Linked DNA regions of Homo sapiens: all the other regions are linked to region 2. The links are contacts of gene promoters, found by promoter capture Hi-C in blood cells and fetal thymus (Javierre and others, 2016). All regions are on one chromosome and are shown on one strand. The core of a region is centred on a gene start or on the middle of the fragment in contact, and the rest is flanking DNA. Distances in the headings are between cores, read along the strand shown. Region 1 overlaps MCTP1 (multiple C2 and transmembrane domain containing 1). Region 2 holds the start of MCTP1-AS1 (MCTP1 antisense RNA 1). Region 3 overlaps MCTP1 (multiple C2 and transmembrane domain containing 1).

Region 1 (4,362 bases), core at 1,818-4,317, 270 kb after region 2:
TTCAGAAGAAATGGTACCAGCTCCTCTTTGTACCTCTGGTAGAATTCAGCTGTGAATCCATTTGGTCCTAGACTTTTTTTGGTTGGTAAGCTATTAATTATTGCCTCAATTTCAGATCTGTTATTGGTCTATTAAGAGATTCAACTTCTTCCTGGTTCAGTCTTGGGAGGGTGTTATGTGTCCCGGAATTTATTCCTTTCTTCTAGATTTTCTAGTTTATTTGCATAGAGGTGTTTATAGTATTCTCTGATGGTAGATTGTATTTCTGTGGGATCGGTGGTGATGTCCCCTGTATCATTTTTTATTGCATCTATTTGATTCTTCTCTCTTTTCTTCTTTATTAGTCTTGCTAGTGGTCTACCTATTTTGTTTATCTTTTCAAAAAACCAGCTCCTGGATTCATTGATTTTTCGAAGGGTTTTTTTGTGTCTCTGTCTCCTTCAGTTCTGCTCTGATCTTAGTTATTCCTTGCTTCTGCTAGCTTTTGAATTTGTTTCTTTTGCTTCTCTAGTTCTTTTAATTGTGATGTTAGGGTGTCGATTTTAGATCTTTCCTGCTTTCTCTTGTGGGCATTTAGTGCTATAAATTCTCCTCTACATGCTGCTTTAAATGGGTCCCAGAGATTCTGGTACATTGTGTCTTTGTTCTCATTGGTTTCAAAGAACATCTTTATTTCTGCCTTCATTTTGTTATTTACCCAGTAGTCATTCAGGAGCAGGTTGTTCAGTTTCCATGTAGTTGTGCGATTTTGAGTGAGTCTCTTAATCCTGAGTTCTAATTTGATTGCACTGTGGTGTGAGAGACAGTTTGTTGTGATTTCTATTCTTTTACATTTGCTGAGGAGTGTTTTACTTCCAATTATGTGGTCAATTTTAGAATAAGTGTGATGTGGTACTGAGAAGAATGTATGATCTGTTGATTTGGGGTATAGAGTTCTGTAGATATCTATTAGGTATGCTTGGTGCAGAGCTGAGTTCAAGTCCTGGATATCCTTGTTAACCTTCTGTCTCGTTCAACAAAATTCAACAGCTAAAAACTCTCAATAAACTAGGTTTTGATGGAACATATCTCAAAATAATAAGAGCTATTTATGACAAAACTACAGCCAATATTATACTGAATGGGCAAAAGCTGGAAGCATTCCCTTTGAAAACTGGCACAAGACAAGGATGCCCTTTCTCACCACTCCTATTCAACATAGTATTGGAAGTTCTGGCCAGGGCAATCAGGCAAGAGAAAGAAATAAAGGGTATTCGACTAGGAAAAGAGGAAGTCAAATTGTCTCTGTTTGCAGATGACATAATCATATATTTAGAAAACCCCATCGTCTCAGCCCAAAATCTCCTTAAGCTGATAAGCAACTTCAGCAAAGTCTCAGGATACAAAATCAATGTGCAAAAATCACAAGCATTCCTATACACCAATAATAGACAGAGAGCCAAATCATGAGTGAACTCCTATTCACAATTACTACAAAGAGAATAAAATACCTAGGAATCCAAGTTACACAGGATGTGAAGGATCTCTTTAAGGAGAACTACAAACCACTGCTCAATGAAATAAAAGAGGACACAAGCAAATGGAGGAACATTCCATGCTCATGGATAGGAAGAATCAATATCGTAAAAATGGCCAGAATGCCCAAGGTAATTTATAGATTCAATGCTATCCCCAACAAGCTACCTCTGACTTTCTTCACAGAATTGGAAAAAACTACTTTAAAATTCAGATGGAACCAAAAAAGAGCCCACATAACCAAGACAATCCTAAGCAAAAAGAACAAAGCTGGAGGCATCACGCTACCTGACTTCAAACTATACTACAAGGCTACAGTAACCAAAACAGGATGGTATGGTACCAAAACAGATATATAGACCAATGGAACAGAACAGAGGCCTCAGAAATAACATCTACAACCATCTAAGCTTTGACAAATCTGACAAAAACAAGCAATGGAGGAAGGATTCCCTGTTTAATAAATGGTGCTGGGAAAACTGGCTAACCATAGGTAGAAAGCTGAAACTGGACCCCTTCCTTACACCGTATACAAAAATTAACTCAAGATGGATTAAAGACTTAAATGTAAGACCTAACACCATAAAAACCCTAGAAGAAAACCTAGGCAATACCATTCAGGACATAGGCATGAGTAAAGACTTCATGACTAAAATACCAAAAGCAATGGCAACAAAAGCCAAAATAGACAAATGGGATCTAATTAAACTAAAGAGCTTCTGAACAGCAAAAGAAACTATCATCAGAGTGAACAGGCAACCTACAGAATGGGAGAAAATCTTTGCAATCTACCCATCTGACAAAGGGCTAATATTCAGAATCTACAAAGAACTTAAACAAATTTACAATTAAAAAAAACCCCATCAGAAAGTGGGTGAAAGATATGAACAGATACTTCTCAAAAGAAGACATTTATGTGGCCAAAAAACATATGAAAAAATGCTCATCATCACTGGTCATCAGAGAAATGCAAATCAAAACCAAAATGAGATACCATCTCACGCCAGTTAGAATGGCGATCATTAAAAATTCAGGAAGCAACAGATGATGGAGAGGATGTGGAGAAATAGGAACGCTTTTCACTGTCGGTGGGAGTGTAAATTAGTTCAACCATTGTGGAAGACAGTGTGGCAATTCCTCAAGGATCTAGAACTGGAAATACCATTTGACCCAGCGATCACATTACTGGGTATATACCCAAAGGATTATAACTCATGCTACTATAAAGACTCTTGCACACGTATGTTTACTGTGACACTATTCACAATAGCAAAGACTCGGAATGATCCCATATGTCCATCAGTGATAGACTGGATTAAGAAAATGTGGCACATATACATCATGGGATACTATGCAGCCATAAAAAAGGATGAGTTCATATCCTTTGCAGGGACATGGATGAAGCTAGAAACCATCAATCTAAGCAAACTATCACAAGGACAGAAAAGCAAGCACCGCATGCTCTCACTCATACGTGGGAGTTGAACAACAAGAACACATGGACACAGGGCGGGGAACATCACACACCAGGGCCTGTGGGAGAGTGGGGGCCTGGGAGAGGGATAGCATTAAGAGAAATACCTAATGTAAATGACGAGTTGATGGGTACAGCAAACCAACATGGCACATGTTTACCTAAGTAACAAACCTGCACGTTGTGCACATGTACCCTAGAACTTAAAAGTATAATAAAAAAATAATAAAATAAAAATAATGAAGATAAGCAAAGGGCACATTTATTTGTAGCCTGTTACGAAATGTTGAGTTCCCTAAGCTCAAGTTTTCTGTGTGATTCAGATGTACAGCAACTACCTGAGCCACTCTGCATCGCCCCATGGGACTTGGGGGCTGAGGGAATGAACATGAATGTGAAGCTCATATTATTGTTATGTCAGGAATCATAAAGTCCTTTGTTTCTAATCCAGGAACTTCGTGTTGTGTGTCAGTATACATGAAACTGTGGTGGCTAACTGGTTAGCTTGCAAGTATAATAACATTTCAGACCCTTCACAGTTTTTGACAGAGGAGAGGAGACGGTTTTTATGTTTAGTATAATGCAAAGAAAATAAGATTTAGAGTCAGGCTGATATAAGTTTGAATTTTGGTCCATCCACATCCTAGCTGGGCAACTGTAAGCCAGTTATTTAACTTTTGGATTTCTTTTTCTCCTCTATAAAAATGAATACAATGATATAAAAATGGAAGCGTTCTTGAGTACAATTTAAACAGAATAACTTATGTGAAATGCCTAGAACAATACTTAGCACAAAAATGCTTTCCTCTTTAATGATATTTTCATTTTCTACTTTTTCCTTATAGCTTTATTATTATATTTTTAAAGTGCATAAATATGTCTTAACACTACTAATAGGTAGGCTTACATGGAAAATGCTGAATCTCCTCAGTATGTAGTATATGAGCTACTCAACAAATATCTGTTAAATCAGTCAAGGACTAGTTGATAAGAATAGCTTATTTTATTCACTCACTAATTCATGCATCCTTATTGAGATGTTATTATGCTCCAGGCACTGAACTAGGAAGCAGAGATTTAGCAAAGAAAGCCCATGCTCTCATGAAACTTACTTTTGGTAAACACAGATTTAGCAAACACAGACGAGAATTTCGGACAGAGACAAGTGCTATAAAACAGCAGAAGCAAGAAAGAGCATGGGCGGCTGGTGAGGTTTAGGAGAAGCTTCTATGAGAAGGGGTTACTTTATCTCCCACCTGGCAATAGAAAGGGGCCAGCAATCAAATATCTGAAATAAGCACTTTGCAAGCAGAAGGGAAAGCAAGCGCAAAGACCCTGAAGTGAGAACAAGCTTGACCATTAGAGGAACCTAA
Region 2 (4,633 bases), core at 306-2,805:
ATACAAAATCAATTGCATTTTTATACACTAACAATGAACTATCTGAAAAGGAAATGAAGAAAAAGAATTGTGTCTACATTATCCCTCAAAATAATAAAATACTTAGAAATAAGCTCAACTAAGAAGGTAAAAGACTTGTACACTGAAAACTATAAAATGTTAATGAAAGAAATTAAAGAAGACACTAATAAATGAAAAGTCATCTTGTGTTCATGAATTGAAAAATGGAATATTGTTAAAATGTACATACTACCCAAAGCAATCTATAGATTCAATGAAATCTCTATCAAATTCCAATGATATTTTTTACAGAAATAGAAAAAAAAAACCCTAAAATTCATATGGAACCACAGATGACCCCGAATAGTCAAAAAAAATCTTGAGAAAGAAAAACAAAGCTGGAGGCATCATACTTCCTGATTCAAAATATATTACAAAGCTACAGTAATTAAAACAGCATGGTACTGTGAAAAAGACAGACATATAGTCCAAGGAACAGAATGAAAATCAATCCATGCCTGTATGGTAAACTGACCTTCAACAAGGGTGCCAGGAATACAAAATAGGGAAAGGATAGTCTTCAACGAATAGCTTTTGAAAACTGTATATTCACATGCAGAATAATGAAACTGGACTCTTATCTTACCCCATATACATAAATCAATACAAATGGATTAAAAACTTAAATATAAGTCATGAAACTATAAAACAGGGAAAAACCTTCATGACATTAGTTTTGTCAATGATTGCGTGAGTATGACACCAAAAGCACAGGAAACAAAAGTAAAACCAGGCAAATGGGACTAGAGGAAATATCTGCAAATCATATATCAGATAAGGGGTTAGTTTCCAATATATAAGGAATTTCTACAACACAATAGCAAAAAAACCTAATAATCTGATTTTAAAACTGGGCTAAGTCTGGAATAGACATTTCTCCAAAGAAGACATACAAATGGCCAACAGGTATATGAAAAGATGCTGTTACCAAACATCAGGGGAATGAAAATCAAAAATACAATGAGACATCACCTGACACCTGGTAGGAAAACTATCAACACGTGTTGGTGAGGATGTGAAGAAATCTGAACCCTTGTACACTGTTGGTGGGAATGCAAAATGGTGCAGTTACTGTGGAAAACAATATGGAGATTTCTAAAAAAAAATAAAAATAGAGCTACCATATGATTTAGCAATCTGACTTTTTAGTATTTATCTAAAAGAACTGAAATCAGGATCTTAAAGAGAAATAAGCACTCCCATATTCATTGCAACACTATTTACAATAACCAAGACATAGAAGCAACCTAAATGTTCATCAATGAATGCATGCATAAAAAGAAGATGTGGTATATATATATAATGGAATATTATTCAGACTGAAAAAAGAAGGAAATCCTGCAATATGTGACAACATGGATGAAACTTGAAGACATTATGCTATATACCAGCCACAGAAGGACAAATACTGCATGATTTCACTTACATCAGATATCTAAAATAGTCAAACTCATTGAATCAGAAAGTAGAATGGTGGATGCCAAGGGCTGGTAGTAGGGGTGGGGAATGGGGTGTTTCCAGTCAATGGGCATAAAGTCTCAATTACACAAGATGAATACGTTTTTGAGATCTGCTGTACAACATTGCTCCTATATTAATATTGTACTATATGCCTAAAAATGTGTTAAGAGTGTAGATCTCATGTTAAGTGTTCTTACCACAATAAAATAAATTTTTTTAAAAAACCAAGATCATTGGGTGTGATCATTGGCACACAGAAGCCTACTGCCTACTGAGTTTTTGAGAGAAAGAACTTAGCTGTTTGAGATCCCTGACATTACCCTAGTAGGAAGCAGGATATGAAAGATGTACAATCCCCAAGGAGAGCAAGCTCCTTCACACCCATTTCAGACATGGCCATAGAGGACAATGAATAAGAAATAGATCCCCAAATTAAGGGGCCAGTTGCCACGGAGAACAACAAACAAGAGGATTCTTCCCAGACAGAAAAGTTCTAATCAAACAATTTTCCTACTCTCCAGGTTAAGAGGCCTTCATCTGGCCTCTTTATGGACATGGGGATTTCAGAATTTATACTGACAAGTAACTTGTGCCCCCCATGATTTCTACCATTGTATGTTGGATGTGTATAGGGAGACTGTAGGCAGATTCTTAGTTCCGAGGGCTACAAGGAACCACATTCAGACCTGACAGAGAATATCCTTTTATTCAGAGATCCTGAACTTAGAGCTGTATACGGTGATCAGATGGGACTTTGACTGTTTCTCTTGGAGAAGAGTGAATGTCTTCTATATGCAGGAAGAGTGAAACATATTTGGTGACCAGAGGTAGAGTATAGCCAAGAATGCTACTGCTTGGCAATATGAGCTATAGCTTCCGGCCTCCTTTAAAATTAGGAGTGGTCAATTGGCTGCATTCTGGTCAACTGAATATAAATGCAAAAGGTAATGTGTGCCAATTTTAAGCCTGGCCTATAAAAATCTTCCCATGTGGGATTCTTACTCTACTCTGTCAACCACAGGCTTTGAGGACCAAAAGGGAGATAGTAACACTAGATAGAAAAAAAACACTAGGGGCCCGTGATGACTGTGTGGAGCAGAACTAGAGCCCCACCCTCCAACACGGACACATATTAAACCATAATAAGAGCAAGAAAAACAGCTTTTCTTAGGTTAAATCATTGATATATCGGGTTTATCTGTTTAGTTATATATCTTAACAAATACAAAATTTAAACCACAACAAATCATGATTATATTGTTTGGTGCTAATAATAAGGAAAATGTAAGATTTAAGGCCCTTAAAGAAAGGACTCCACTGACATTTAGTTTTAAAAAATACCTTAAAAATTCAACTTGTGAAATATCAAGTGATCAACAGTTTACTCCAATAATGATGCTTTATAAGAATTAGTACTAAACATATAGTTTTAGGAACTTTTAATAAAATTACCCTTACCATTTTGTTGGAATTTAGTGACATTTAAAACAGTACTCCCAGATATATTTTAGATAAATCATTTATAATCTTTTAATTGTTTTCCCCCTACTTTAACAACAGCAGCAAAGCAAAACAAAGTCATATTATGCAAATGATTCATCTTCCCACTTTCCAATGCCTTCCCGTCACAACTAAGTGATGAATGAATAATCTTATAGAAACAAAAAGTCTTAGCATTGGAAGAGACTTCGTCCAGTCTTTCATTAATACAAAAATTCTAGTTACAAACCCAGTAACATATGACACATGATCATATAGACGGAATGTAGAGGCAGCTTGAATGCTTCCAGCACAGCACTGGAATTCAATGAAATATTGAATTTCCTTTTGAAATTCAATATTTGTTGAAAACATATGTTATGTGATATAGTATATTTTGATTTTGGACAGGTATGTCATAAAATGTATGTTTAAAGAGCTAATCTTCCTCATCTGAATCTTTAGAGCTTTAAGGAAATGGCTAGTCCTTATTTCATAGACACCCTTTCCAAGCATGTGTAGTCCTAAAGACATTGTCACTGGCACGATTCTATATTTGAGGTCATTAAAAAAAAGATACAATAAGCTGATCTTCTTATCCATGTTCTTCAATGAGAGAAGTTTTAAAGGGTATGCTTCCACAGATGAGCAACTAAAAGTTTTTTTCGTTTTAAAATACAGGTTTAAAGGAAATGATTACAGTTGCCACCATCTCCTTGATTATTAATTAAAGGCTTTTCTTCAATTATCATATTATTCCATATAGTCAATGGTTATATAAGTTTTATAAGTAAAAAAGATAAGCAAAGCAAAATGTTAACACCTACCATGTAACTAAAATACTTGAGGAACAATGAAAAAAAAACCTTCACCCCTTATGCTAAAAACAGTTAATAAGTGTTTAATGTGACAAGTGACTTCAAAACTTGCAATTATCCTGCTAAAGCATGGCGTCACTGATAGAGACAAAGACGGCAGATATAGTATAGTGGTAGGTGGTGTGGGTCCCTGTTCTTATCTTCAACACAGTATTCCCTTCAACTCTCTGGCAGGGTGTGGGAAAAGTCCGAGGTTTCCACTGGTAAGTTTAATAAAAGATGTAGAACCAATCTAAGTTATACACTTCCCAAGGGACACACTCTTTTTATGCCTTCTGTCTTTTCTGTTAAACTTGCTACTTTTCCAATGCCATTAACATCCTATTACTTTGTTAAGGAAGACAGGGCTCTTGCATATTACAAGATTTGTGCTAGCTCTCAGAGTGAATAAATTCTCCTGCTAGTATGATTTTCCTTTCCTGAAATACACTCACACATTCAACAATATTTACTGGATGTCAACATGTGTTAGGTGCTGTGGATTCGGCAGTGCATAAAACAACATCTCTACTCTCAAGGAGTCTCCCTCCATTCTAGTGGAGGAAGACAGGCAGTGAGCCAATATATGAGCATACAGTGTGCTGTGTGGTGATCAGAGCATGGAACAACAGAGAGTTGGGTAAAGGCGTGGTGGTCAGAGGGTTTGCTATTTTGGATGAGGTGTGGAGAGAAAGCCTCACCTATAAGGACACATTTGAAAAGGGACTTGAAACAATGAAGGAGGTTTCCAGGCAGAGAAAGCAGCAAGTGCAGAG
Region 3 (4,633 bases), core at 1,858-4,357, 290 kb after region 2:
GTGAGGTTTAGAGAGGTTAAGACTTACTCAAGCTCTGGAAGACAGTCTGCCTCCACCTCTCTTCCCCATGGGCAAAGTCAACCAGTCCAGTCTCCACCCAGGGGCAGGCAACTCTCCTAGGCCATTCTTCCCTTGCACTGTTTCTTCTCTTCCTTTGTATTGAAACCACAGATCCCCTTAAAAAACCATCTTCTTGCAAAGTGTGATGACAGGGACAGTAAAAGAAGCTGAGGCAGCAATGGGTAAACACTACTAAAGCATATTTGTATAATGAAGCTGCTTGCAAGTGGAGTGTGGATCAGGAACTGCTTATATTCTAGGCTCTGAAAGGAGGAAAAGAGGATGGTAAGTGGATTTATCCCTTGAGCGTCAGTATCTACCTCTCTAAAGTATGTTTTCTAAGTTCTTTGCTAAAATTCTAGGACTTCATCAATGTGATAGCCTTTAGGTTAACTCAGGTGCTGTTATTTGTACCATAGCTAACTTTAAAACTAGTCATCTCATTAGCATGGCTTTTCAAATACTAAAATCCATTCAGGAAGAAAAGCATTAAAAACCTAGTTGATATACACTTTAAAATTCCATACTCTATGCTCGTTTTATATTAAAAACACAGAAAAACAGTCTCCCTCTCCAAGGCAGTGCTTCAGACCAGCAGCTGAGTCCAGCAGCTCATAGATAGATTTTCTGGATGGCTGATTATTCATCTTCCCCACTGCTGCTTATTGACCAAACCCCACGCGGGCACTGGAAATATCTGCCTGCCCACAGCAATTTGATTTGCCTTTAAAGACCCACCTCTCTCCCACTCTCAGCCCACAGTGTTTGGATTGAATGCCCCTCACTTCTGGGTTCCAAAAGACACACATGACCTGTCCAAAGCACCCCCTGGCCACAGTGGACAGAGTGAGGGTCCAAATCACTCCCAATGTCACTCACTGCCAAGCATGGTCTTTCCCACAGGCAGGCACAGCTGTGAGGAGGATGTGTGCCTAGAGATGCTGACAGCCACCAGTAGAGAGTCTGCCTGAGAGAGATGTCCAAAGCGAAGCAATTCTGGGAGAAGGAAAGAAAGAAAGGTGGCAGGGGGTGGTGGGGTAAAGACAGAGACCTGATGACTGAGGCCTGGATCCAGCCTGCTCTGGGTCTTTTCAGGTGTGACCAATACACTCTCCTTTGAAGCCTAATCCAGGAAGAGTTGAGCTCCTGTATCTTGCAATGAAAGGCTCATGAACAGCCCGTCCCTGGTGCCTGGGCTCTACTCCATCCATCCTATTAGACATCTCCGTTCCTACCCACCACTCCTCAAATGTTCCCAGTATCATGTGGGGAACTACTGTGTGCCTTTTTAGCTCCCAAGCATGGCCCAGCTGGCAGGACATGAGGAGTCAGCCCCAGCAGCAGCTCAGTCTCCTTGGCCTTCTGTACAACAAGCTTCAGTCCAAGAGGTGTTCACATTCCACCCTCAGCTCTACCCAGCTTCCTTTTCATAGGCTGCTGCCCCAAGCAGAGAATCGGGCTTCCAGGCAAGGAGCTATAAGTTAGGCCTGTGGTTGGCTTATTTTAAAGGAAGCAATCGTTTGTGCTTCCATTTATCAAAGCCCAGAGTGCACAAGCACAGATCCATATCCTTCTGAATCATCCACCACCTCTCAGGTTTGAGAACTGCCCTCTAACAAAGCTCTTTCTTCACGGTGATTTCAGACTGCAGGCTTCTACATTTCCCAGCACATTTATAAGATGGCCATGAAATCAATGAGAAGAAGTGAACAGAGAGCTGAGAGTACACTACTGCTGGTGCAAACCAGACCAATTGTTCAAGCAGTTGTCGCAAATGAGGTCATTAAGCCTCTGTATTTATCTCCCAAGACACAGGGATTCCCATGGTTTTATTTACTTAAAAGTGGAATGTCTGTGCTACCTGGTAGTGACATTTATCTTTTACATATATATGCTACCTCCCCATCTAAGAGAAAAAATCTCTGGAGTGCAGGAGTATTGGGTTCCCAGAATCTAGAACAGATTTTCAATTCCTTATGTGTGTAGGCGGCAGTCAGCAAATGTTGACAACTGAGGAGGATAATCAGAGAGAGCTTCTATTAGATATCTCAGTCTCTGGCAAAGGAATCTCGCTTCTGAAAGGCCCAGACCCAAAGAAGAGTCTCATATAAGAATGCATAAGAAGGAAACAGAAATCAACTTCTAGGAAACAGAACCCCATATTAGCAAGAAACTCCAAATTTGGGTTCCCCTCACACCCTGGTCTCTTTGGTAAATGCTGCAGGCTACAGCTTCCTTTTTATTTCTGGGCATATCTAGACCTACTGTTAGGAGGCCAGTCTACAGATTTTTCCTCCTAAAAATCAATCCAAGTGCCCTGCAAGGTTCTAGGATAAATAAATATGCAGGCCATGGTTGAAATTTCAGAGACTCAAGTTTTAACTTTTATAATGCTAATGGAGCCATCTAATTTTCATAAGAATTGTTACTGAGTCTTCCTTTTACCCAAGGGTATTAACTGAGGGTTCTGGAGTCCATGGATTGAAAGTCATGAGTTTCCTTCCTTGAGGAAGAATGCACAATTCTGGTTTTGTGTACATTTCTATGGGGAAAATACCACAACCTTTGTTAGTTTCTGAAAAGGGTTTATGATACCCAAATAGAACGAGAATTACTGTTTAAATCTGTTTACTGTTTGAATAGTATAATGTTTACTTGGTCATGACTCCAGTAAAATACTACATGAAGAACAACAGAAAGACTACATCACATTTTTCCATAATAGCAGATAAAAGAATACATAGGTTCTTGATACCCTTTAGACTTGGGCATGGCTTCTGTCATGAAAATTTTTACTAGATGCTATTTCCTAGTCCAGATGGCAGTAATGGTTGGATGCTTAAAGCAGTCCATGTTCATATTGGTCATTGTAGTAGCTGGCTGGGGAGGTCAAAGCAGAGATTGGCAAACCTCAGTCGGGCAGGGCTTGGTACAATTTCTGATCACTCATATTTGCTAGATGTGCTAGAATCCATACCCTGAGCGTTCTCAGAATAGCAAGTAGGCTGGCTTATGTCGCCACTTCAATTTTGATTGTGTGACAGACTACAGTCTCCATGAAATATTTTGACATTGCCTTCTTTTCCCTCCTATAACATTGTATAACAAATGTAATGGTGAGCTTTAACACACTTTAACTTTTCCTTCTTGCTTGAGAACATTGCTGCAAATCTGTTTCATAAATATGAATATTGGCTATACATGGAAATATAAAATTTAGATTTTATGTCTGAGAAAATATACAGGAAAATATGAACAAATTAAATCCCCTTTACCATGCTTTAGATCTGTTCAACGGAAAGTCTTCCTAATTAACCCATGATTATGTTAACAAACAATACACATTTTTAAATGTACACCTCCTTATAGAACCCTCTCCAAAGTTTTTCATTTTTTTCCCACCCTAACTTCAGGAAAGAAGTTTAAATCTCCTGAAAATGTATTTTTTTATAATTTACAGTTGTAACATCTGGATCACTGAGCTTTATCTAATTTTCATCTCTACCTAGGCTCGGAAATGTGCTGTCTAGGAGAAATCTCTCCCCTGAGCACTGATAATGAGACATCAGATTGCATTTCTTGCCTTCATTTACTTTCCAATAGTACTCAATAAAAAAGCAATGAAATGGCATGTTTTTCCAGGGGGAAAGACACTTTCATCCTCTAGGTATTTCTATTTTTGTCGACATTTTTAAAATGTCATATCCTAATAAGGAAAACATAGCTCCAACCTACTTCCCTATCTCTTTACAAGACAACTTTGTGAGTACAATGTGGTTCCACACATAGAAGCAAAGGAAAGCTATTCCCAGACCAAGGACATGAAGTCTCCTGAAGATGGTTCTTCCCTTCAAGGCTGAGCATCTGGGTTCTCAAAATTGCTTCAGTCCTTGCTAAAGTCCAAAATCTCCCCAAGATCTGCAAGGTTCTGCATAATCTGGTCCCTGCCACTAATCCCAGACCCATCTCCCCCAACACACACACACCTTCCCTCTTAATCACCAAATCCCCACTGCCCAGGCAATCTTCCTCTAAGTGCTTCCTGCTGTGGTTCCTTCTGCCCAGAACTGTCTGCCACATCCCTGCCTTCCCTCCACCCTGAAGAAATCTGACCAACTCCTATTAGTTATTTTCATTCGATCCTAAATGCTTCTTCAGGGAAACCTGATCTGATCCTCCCTCTCTCAAGATTGGGTTGGGACTTCTTATCATACAATTCATTCCTACAATTCTCTGTACTCCTCTGATTCAGTTATCACAATTGTAATTGGTAACAATTTGCATATTTTTTAATGTAATGGATGTTTCTTCTATAAGATCGTAAGCTCTATGTGAGCAGGAACTGTCTTATTATCAAGGTATTAACAAGATACTATGTCTACCACAACATAGATATTTCATAAATATTTGAGGAAGGGAGAAAGAGAAAGATGGTTACTAAAATCGTTGGTACTTAATTGGAAGGAGATCTTCCAGCTACACATACATATTTGGGGTTGGTTTATTATATAGAACATTTTAACTGAATATTCTCCCCATTCCAAGACATCTGGAAAACAGCTACAAGACAATA

The links. The method cuts DNA at HindIII sites, captures the fragments that hold promoters and counts their contacts. A CHiCAGO score of 5 or more calls a contact.
Region 1: a fragment that was not itself captured here is called in contact with the fragment with the promoter of MCTP1-AS1 in region 2 in 6 of 17 cell types (M2 macrophages, megakaryocytes, endothelial precursors and 3 more); the score reaches 8.2 in M2 macrophages.
Region 3: a contact is called between a fragment that was not itself captured here and the fragment with the promoter of MCTP1-AS1 in region 2, in 6 of 17 cell types (M2 macrophages, megakaryocytes, erythroblasts and 3 more). The highest score is 9.3, in M2 macrophages.

Annotation. Positions count from the first base shown.
Region 1 is chr5:95,246,953-95,251,314 of GRCh38, forward strand. All of the region lies in intron 1 of MCTP1 (multiple C2 and transmembrane domain containing 1), which reads right to left. The region is part of intron 6 of LOC105379085 (a long non-coding RNA gene); the gene reads left to right. Among named protein-coding and RNA genes, the nearest start is that of MCTP1, 36 kb to the right of the region's middle. The HindIII fragment of the contact is 2,288 bases long and covers 1,924-4,211 here.
Region 2 is chr5:94,977,143-94,981,775 of GRCh38, forward strand. It overlaps MCTP1-AS1 (MCTP1 antisense RNA 1), which reads left to right and starts at 1,556. Exons shown (of 2, transcript NR_189169.1): 1 at 1,556-2,465; 2 at 3,682-3,751. The region is part of intron 2 of MCTP1 (multiple C2 and transmembrane domain containing 1); the gene reads right to left. The HindIII fragment of the contact is 7,189 bases long and covers 1-4,633 here.
Region 3 is chr5:95,263,806-95,268,438 of GRCh38, forward strand. All of the region lies in intron 1 of MCTP1 (multiple C2 and transmembrane domain containing 1), which reads right to left. Among named protein-coding and RNA genes, the nearest start is that of MCTP1, 19 kb to the right of the region's middle. The HindIII fragment of the contact is 3,351 bases long and covers 1,433-4,633 here.